Linked DNA regions of Homo sapiens: regions 1 and 3 are each linked to region 2. Evidence: promoter capture Hi-C in 16 types of primary human blood cells and fetal thymus (Javierre and others, 2016). All regions are on one chromosome and are shown on one strand. Each heading gives the region's core, a stretch centred on a gene start or on the middle of the fragment in contact. The rest is flanking DNA. Distances are from core to core; before and after follow the strand shown. Region 1 overlaps TACC1 (transforming acidic coiled-coil containing protein 1). Region 2 holds the start of ASH2L (ASH2 like, histone lysine methyltransferase complex subunit). Region 3 overlaps ADAM9 (ADAM metallopeptidase domain 9).

Region 1 (2,700 bases), core at 186-2,685, 690 kb after region 2:
GCTGGGTGTCTGCAATCCTTTGTGTTCTTTGGCTTGTGGCAGCAGAACTCCAGTCTCTGTCTCAACACATGGCCATCTTCTCCCTATGTATCTGTCTTACCGTGCCCTTCCTGTGAGGACACCAGTCGTTGAAGTTAGGGCCCACCCTAATCCAGTTTGACCTCATCTTAACTTGGTAACATCTTCAGAGATACTATTTCTAGATAAGGTCACATTCATAGGTACTAGGAGTTGGGACTTTAACATATCATTTTGAGAGACATAATTCAGCCCACAACAGAGAGCTTTGAACAGAGGGATTGTGATTCAGCTTCTTTTGTAAAAGGCTCCCTGGGCTGCTGTGTGGAGAAGGGACTCTAGGATGGAAGTCCTTTTTATGTGGTTTCTCTGTTCCAGTATCTGGCACTGTCACCCTGAAGTGGCAGCGCCAGCTTTCAGTTATCTAGCTACCTAAACTTTGTGCTGATTGTGACTTTCTCCTCTCCCTAATAAGTATTTTTATTGCTTAGCAACTTCTTCGTAGGTTGCCTAGGGAAGTCAAGTTACTCTGGTAATAGACTGCATGATGGAGCTGGAATTATTGGTAAAATGACATCAGCAAAAAGCTGATTTGGTTTTGCTTTAAATTGATAGCTCCATGCTGTGCTTACCCAGCTGAGAATTCAGCAATACCCTCAACTTGCCCTAGGCTGCATTTTGCCATTGTTCTAGGCAGGGACAACATGGGAATAGGCAAGCTTATATACTGGAGAATTTGTGTGCGACGCATAGCTGTGTAGCACTCTCAGTGATGAAGATAACACTTATTCCTCATAGCTTCCCTTTTCTTCCGTAAAGATTGGCAGATCAGAAGGGAGATTTTGAAGCTTGAAAGAACTATTTGGTGGCCTTTCCATCAAATTTAAATAAAGCTCATAAGACACATGTTAAGGAGCTGTTTGAAAGCCTTTTTGAATTGCCATCAGCTTGGGCGGCCCTTCCTCATCGTTTTGTCAGCTGCTAGACTGATTCATCCCGCCAGATTCTTTGCCAATTGAATAGAGGCCTGGATGACCTAGGCCCCCAAAACCACAGAGACCCAATTGTTTGGTCCTTCCTGTACCAGTGACTCTCACATTTTTTTCATTCTCTCTAAAAGGAAAACTTTTAAATGTTTATGGATCATGAAGGCTCTATGGGGTAGTTCATGAATGCAGACTGTAATTGTAGGGGTAGAGGAGTGTCCAGTCCAGGAAACAACCCTGCATATTATGAAGGCTTTCAGTTTAGGGTCTTTAAACAATAGGATGATTGCTCATCAACCTGGTCGTACCCTGACTTCCAGGGTCCTTGGGTGCAACATCCGGAGCTAGTCCAGAGTACCGCCAATGGCCTTGTCACACATACACAGCAAATGTGCAAAGACAGCCAGAGCACAGGTCTGCCTGGAGAGGATTTCAGTGGGCAGAAAGCCCTTCAGAGTCATTTCATATTGAAGTTTAATTTCTGGGACTGGATAAGTTCCCTTTCTCCCAAAATTATTGATTGTTTTGTTCCTGGTAAAGATAGTCTTTCATACTTTTGTGGTTCCAAGACATGGTTGGACCGCAGTTATAAATTATATAAGACTAAATCATTCTGGAAGAATGATTTACGAGGAGTTAGTCAGGAGTTGGAGTTGAAATATGTAAACATTCTGGCTTCCTGGTACATAATGGCCCTCAAACGTGTGGGCTACATTTACCATACCCATGGCTCCTGTGCTGACTTCTGTATAGTTCTTTGAACTCAGGGAAACATCTAAGACTATTTTGAAATGACTTTTCTTATACTGGAACTGCTTTAGGAACTTGCAGTATCTAAACTCTATAATGACTCTTCCTAAGAGTTGTATGCCAGGAGTTAAGTGGCGGATAAGGTTGTAGATTTTTTTTGAAGCCACATATAGAAGCAGGTTTTAGGCTTACTGGTAAAATAAAACTCTAGCTAAAGATATTTCCTGGAAATAACCAGACTGGTAGCTGTAAAGCTTGGGCTGGTCTGTATTTGCTATCTGTCTGTTTTCTCCCACTAAAGTTGTTTAATGCTGCTGCTGTTGTGGTGGTCTTTCTCTTTGCTGGGAAATATATTGGTGAAGAAACATCCTCTAGGAATGGACTTTTGAGGAGGTACAATCTCAAGTTCATCCTCTGTTTTGTTTTGCTTTGAGACAGGATCTATGTCTAGACTGGAGTGCAGTAGTATGATCATAGCTTACTGCAGCCTCCAACTCCTGGGCTCAGATGATCCTCCTGCCTCAGCCTCCTGAGTAGCTGGGACTATAGGCACACACTACCATGCCTGGCTAATTTTTTGTTTTGTTTTGTTTTTTGAGATAGAGTCTCGCTCTGTTGCCCTGGCTGAAATGCAGTGGTGCGATCTCGGCTCACTGCAAGCTCCGCCTCCTGGGTTCACGCCATTCTTCTGCCTCAGCCTCCCAAGTAGCTAGGACCACAGGCGCCCACCACTACGCCCAGCTAATTTTTTGTATTTTTAGTAGAGACGGGGTTTCACCGTGTTAGCCAGGATGGTCTCGATCTCCTGACCTCGTGATCCGCCCGCCTTGGCCTCCCAAAGTGCTGGGATTACAGGCGTGAGCCACCACGCCTGGCCAGTTTTTTTATTTTTTGTAGAGATAGGGTCTTGCTATGTTGCCTAGGCTGATCTCGAACTCCTGGCCTA
Region 2 (2,700 bases), core at 143-2,642:
AGATCGACACCAGCCTGGCCAACATGGTGAAACCCCGCCTCTACTAACAAAAATTAGCCGGGCGTGGTGACAGATACCTGTAATCTCAGCTACTCGGGAGGCTGAGGTAGGAGAATCGCTTGAACCTGGGGTGGAGGTTGCAGTGAGCCGTGATCGGGCCACTGCGCTCCAGCCTGGGCGACAGAGCGAGACTCTGTCTCAAACAAACAACAACAAGAAAACACAAAATTCTGCGACCATATGTTAAAACTGCTACAATACTACGTATTTGGGAGGAGATACTTAGATCAAGCATCCTGCTTCTCTTTGGAGTACCAACCCCTGATTTAAGTATTTATCATCAATTTTAAAAATGTAACCTGGCAACTCAGTTAGGTCTTTCTTCAATTTTGTTGAAAACCAATAATTGAGAACCAATTGGGAAATCAATATCTACGTATTTCCCATGGCGTCCAGTGGCCCAGAGATTCCTACACTATCGGTGGACACATCACAGTAAGATTAGACTGAGGATTGGCGAGGGGTGCGCCGTTCTTGTGTAAAGCGGGAGAAGAGTGTATTATCGTTAGGCAACATTTTAGGATATAGGATAAACACTGGTGTCCTGAAAACGTTCCTGGCCGCAACACTCTCAGAGGTTTGCATTCTCGAGTTTGGAGACCATGGCTCTGAAAGACTCAACTCACTCCACTGATGCCAGCCACCAGCTACTGTTGATGACTTCCCAAGTTCGTACTTTCAGTCCACACCTCTTCCTTTCGCTGGGCACCAAACTTGTCTACATTCCGAGTGCCCCGGCACACCCCGGGGCTTCGCTTTCCGCCTCTCACAGTAGGAAGCGGCGAGCCGCTTCTAGTGCCCACGCCGCTCCTCGGCTGCCCGGCCTGGGTTTTCCACCCTCGCCCCTGGAATCGGCCTCCCTAGATTCCCTTCCCTCTTAAAATCATTTGGAAACGGGCTCCAAGGGGCGACCCTGCGCAGAAAACCAAATTCCATCCGGGGCGGGCAGGGAGTGCTAGACTCCAAGGAAGACGTTTCCCACATTCGGTGGTGAGGAGTGTTTGGCGGCACGGCACGGCCAGCGCTCTCAAGGACCCTCTTCTGCGCAGAATATCCAGTCGTAGCCACGAAAATACGCCGCGTCAGTCCCTGACTCGAAAGGAAGTCCTCCAGAGAGCCGCACTAACCATCTAGCTTCCTCCACCTTCAGCCTGCCAGGCCCGCGGCCACCGCCGGCGCGGGAGGCCGGCCCACCTCTGCCCGCGCGCCTGGCCTTAAAGCGGTCGTGGAATTATGCTTCCTCAGGCAGGCGGTGGACGCACCGCGGGCTTTTTCTGTTTGAAGACTACAGCGTCACACAGCAACGCGCGCGAGAGAAGAGAGTATTCTCGCGAGAAGTCCAGGGGTGGCCGTGATGGCGGCGGCAGGAGCAGGACCTGGCCAGGAAGCGGGTGCCGGGCCTGGCCCAGGAGCGGTCGCAAATGCAACAGGGGCAGAAGAGGGGGAGATGAAGCCGGTGGCAGCGGGAGCAGCCGCTCCTCCTGGAGAGGGGATCTCTGCTGCTCCGACAGTTGAGCCCAGTTCCGGGGAGGCTGAAGGCGGGTAAGAGGTCCTGCCGCCCGAGGAAGACGCGGGAGGGAGGCCCGCCCCTCGCGAATCCCGCGGCTCCTGGAGCCCTGCCGCCCGCCCCCTGCGAACCCAGGCCCCGCCGCCAATGGCTCGCCCTGCCTCTGCGCCGCTTGGCCCGTCCCCTCTCAAGCATATCTCGGATAACGCCCCTTCCGCACCTTTCACGGGCGGTGGGAGCTGAGGCTCCTGTCGTTATCTCTGATCCTTGCACCCTGGCAGGAAGCTGGTAGCTCACACTTTAACGGGAGGCCTTCACATATTCCAGAAAAGAAACCACTTTGCAGTGCCAGACTGGAAGAAGTAACGGTCACTCTGAAAACAGGGTGGGAGAGCTGCCTCTCTTTGAACCTCTCCCAGGACCAACTCTAACCCAGGTAGATTTGACTGTAAAGGCCGGTTAGGCTTCCCTGTGCTCCGTGGGTCCGCGACTGTCTGACATGTCCACCTTCTCAGTATCCTGACAGTACCTTGGGCATCCAGTCTGAGATCAGGCTTAGCTGAAAAAGCTGCAGGAGTATGAAGTTCGGCTGTAATTTGATCATCATTTTTGGGAATAGGCATTTTGAGGTTTGTCTTGAGAATTCTTACTTGAGCGCTTTCATTATCTTATAGGGAGGCAAACTTGGTCGATGTAAGCGGTGGCTTGGAGACAGAATCATCTAATGGAAAAGATACACTAGTAAGTATTTTTAGTTGTTTGCAAGACAAAATAGGGTTTGTTTTAGTTATTTCTTCTTCTTCTTTTTTTTTTTTTTTTGTTGCGACGGAGCCTTGCTCTGTCGCCCAGGCTGGAATGCAGTGGCGCGATCTCGGCTCACTGCAACCTCCTCCCCCCGGGTTCCAGCGATTCTCCTGCCTCAGCCTCCCGAGTATCTGGGATTACAGGCATCTGCCAACACACCTGGCTTCTTTTTTTTGTCTTTTTAGTAGAGACGGGGTTTCACCATGTTGGCCAGGCTGGTCTCGAACTCCTAACCTCAGTTGATTCTCCCGCCTCAGCCTCCCAGAGTGTTGGGATTACAGGCGTGAGCCACCGCGCCCGGCCTTGTTTTTACATTTTTAAGCGAATCA
Region 3 (2,700 bases), core at 195-2,694, 890 kb after region 2:
TCAGGAAACTAATTACTTGTTTTTCTTATCTTTGGCTGCTTTATTTGAAATTAAGTAAATTTGCCCCAGTGTGGAAATGTTGAAACTCTGACAATGTTTTGAATGGGAAGTTGCCAAATTTCTTCTGGTTAAAACTACTTTTCCGGTGGTATTCTAGATGGTTAACACTCACCGATGTTTAAGGTGAAGACGATTATACATCCGGAGTTTTATTAATCTGTGATTTTTTTTTGTGTTTGTAAATGTAAATAAGACTGTATTTTTAAATGTTAATATAAATTGTCAGTCATTACCGACCTGCATTAGGTGAGTGGAATATCCTGATGGTCTTTAACTGTGGTTTTGGCCAGCTCCTCACTTCGGCATGTGTATGCCCCTTCAAAGTTTAGCCACCGTTTATGGAACTCCTATAAACACCACACAGTTGATTGTAGAGGGGCAGAAGGTGACCAAATATGCTAAGCGCATCTGAGAGATGTTGGGGAAGATTTTTAGAGAAAATAATATTTGAACTGGGCTACATCGGTGATTTTTCAAGTAGAATAGTAGATACATTCTAAGCAGAGGAAAGTTTTTGCAAGAGTATGGTGGGGCGGGGGGCGTATGAAAGAACATGACTTTTTAGGAAATGATAAAAATGTCAATATGTCTTCATGCAGACTATAAAAGGGAGGGATGGAAGATCAAACTAAGGTAGGTTGTTACCAGTTGGGAAGAGTCTTCTATGCTGAACTAAGGGGTTTGGACTTCACCCCGTAGGAAGTTCTTTGGGCAGTGGAGGTTTTAAGTAGGGGTGCGACCTAATCTCATTTTCTGTTAAGAAAACGGGCAACACGGTGGAGGATAGAATCTAGGAGGGAGAGACTAGAGGCTGGGACACCGGTTAAGAGGCTTTTGTAATAGTGTGCAGTGAGTCAACTCTTGTTTCTCTCGGGGAACGTTCATACAAAATCAGCTGACCACATTTTTGCAGTATAAGGTGTTTAAAACGTGCACTGAAACATTTTCCAGGATCGAAAGAGGAATTTGAGGTACCAGGCACACGTCAGTTACATTAGGAGTTAATTAGGTTTTATAGGATTTTTACTACCTTTTATAACATTGTCTCAATGAGGAAATGCAGTATAATTTCCAAACAGCTAACTTTCAGTAAACTTTTTTTTTTTTTTTAAACTGACAAAGGTAACTGTGTCATTGTAAAAAATAAGCGGAATCAGGTATGAAACCTCTTCTGATTTTCTAAGGTAGTAATTATGAGGAACAGATTTAGAATTTTTTTTTAAACAAAGACTGGCATTCTAAAGAAAATGACTTTGAAAGCTTACTCATGGTGAGTCACTGTAAAATCATTTGTGTAGTAAGAACTTAGGTCCATACTAATCTCGTTTTCAGATGCCAGCAAAATATTTGAATTTGATATGTTTGTGTTTGTGCCGATAGGAGAATGTAGCCTTTTACATTTAAGAATGATTTGGTTTTCAACCTTTTAAGTAAAAAAGAAAGCATATATAATTAAAATATGTACAAACCTAGTTCCTGGTTTCCAAGACAGTTTTCAAAAAGCACTTGAAGCTTTAACTTACCAAATTTATATTTGCTCTTTGTAAAAAATCTGGGTTTATAATAGAATTTATTATGGAATCCCCCAAAAGATGCAAGCTCTAAGTAACTGGAAGCTTTTTCTTGGGAATATCCGCAAGCTCAAACATATGACATAGCCTCATATTTCTTTTTCCTTTTTGGTATGTAACATATACTGGAGGCTTGGAGTCATGCCATCCTTTTGAGTCAGCGCTATGGAACTGCCTCATAAATGAATGCAGTCCTTTTGTATCTCAGTAGCTAATCCCTCACAGTCTTTTTTTTTTTGAGATGGAGTCTTGCTGTGTCGCCCAGGCTGGAGTGCAGTGGCACGATCTCGGCCCACTGCAACCTTCACCTCCCGAGTTCAAGCAATTCTCCTGCCTCAGCCTTATGCCTGGCTAGTTTTTTGTATTTTTAGTAGAGATGGAGTTTCACGGTATTAGCCAGGATGGTCTCGACCTCCTGACCTCGTGATCCGCCCACCTCAGCCTCCCAAAGCGCTGAGACTACAGGCATGAGCCACCGCGCCCCAGCCTCTCTCACAGTCTTTGAATGGGTCTAATGTGGACCCAACTAAAGTTGGGTAGCACAATGTTGTTTGTATATTGAGAGATTATTGTAGTTTATTTTCCATTTCATGTTGTTATTTTAATCAGATTATTTTCCCTAAGTGATCATATGTGGGACACTGCTTGAGTCACATCTTTTTTTTTTCTTTCTGAGAGACAGGGTCTTGCTCTGTTGCCCAGGCTGGAGTGCAGTGGAACAGTCATAGATCACTGTAACCTCGAATTCCTGGGCTGAAGCAATCCTCCTGCCTAAGCCTCCTGAGTAGCTGGGACTGCAGGGGTGTGTCACCATGCTTGGCTAATTAAAAACTTTTTTTGTGTGTGGAGAGGCAATCTTGCTCTGTTGCCCAGGCTGGTCTCGAACTCCTGGGCTCAAGTGTTCCTCCTGCATCAGCCTCCCAAAGTGCTGGGATTACAGGTGTGAACCACCACACCTGGCCTTAAATCACATCTTTTAAGAGTGAGCTAGGGAACCTTAGAAATTAACTTGGTCCGTTTTAAAATATGCAGTTCTGTTTGTATTTATTTATGTTTATGGTAATGTAAG

The links. Contacts are between HindIII fragments. The CHiCAGO score rates a contact against its expected background, and 5 or more counts as called.
Region 1: a fragment that was not itself captured here is called in contact with the fragment with the promoter of ASH2L in region 2 in 1 of 17 cell types (fetal thymus); the score reaches 5.3 in fetal thymus.
Region 3: a contact is called between a fragment that was not itself captured here and the fragment with the promoter of ASH2L in region 2, in 1 of 17 cell types (naive CD8 T cells). The highest score is 5.5, in naive CD8 T cells.

Annotation. Positions count from the first base shown.
Region 1 is chr8:38,790,134-38,792,833 of GRCh38, forward strand. All of the region lies in intron 2 of TACC1 (transforming acidic coiled-coil containing protein 1), which reads left to right. Among named protein-coding and RNA genes, the nearest start is that of TACC1, 4.2 kb to the left of the region's middle. The HindIII fragment of the contact is 1,142 bases long and covers 865-2,006 here.
Region 2 is chr8:38,104,137-38,106,836 of GRCh38, forward strand. It overlaps ASH2L (ASH2 like, histone lysine methyltransferase complex subunit), which reads left to right and starts at 1,393. Exons shown (of 16, transcript NM_004674.5): 1 at 1,393-1,602; 2 at 2,242-2,308. The coding sequence starts at 1,415. RefSeq lists silencers at 1,161-1,250, 1,581-1,780 and an enhancer at 1,361-1,490. The HindIII fragment of the contact is 22,171 bases long and covers 1-2,700 here.
Region 3 is chr8:38,998,174-39,000,873 of GRCh38, forward strand. The region is part of intron 1 of ADAM9 (ADAM metallopeptidase domain 9); the gene reads left to right. Among named protein-coding and RNA genes, the nearest start is that of ADAM9, 2.6 kb to the left of the region's middle. The HindIII fragment of the contact is 252 bases long and covers 1,319-1,570 here.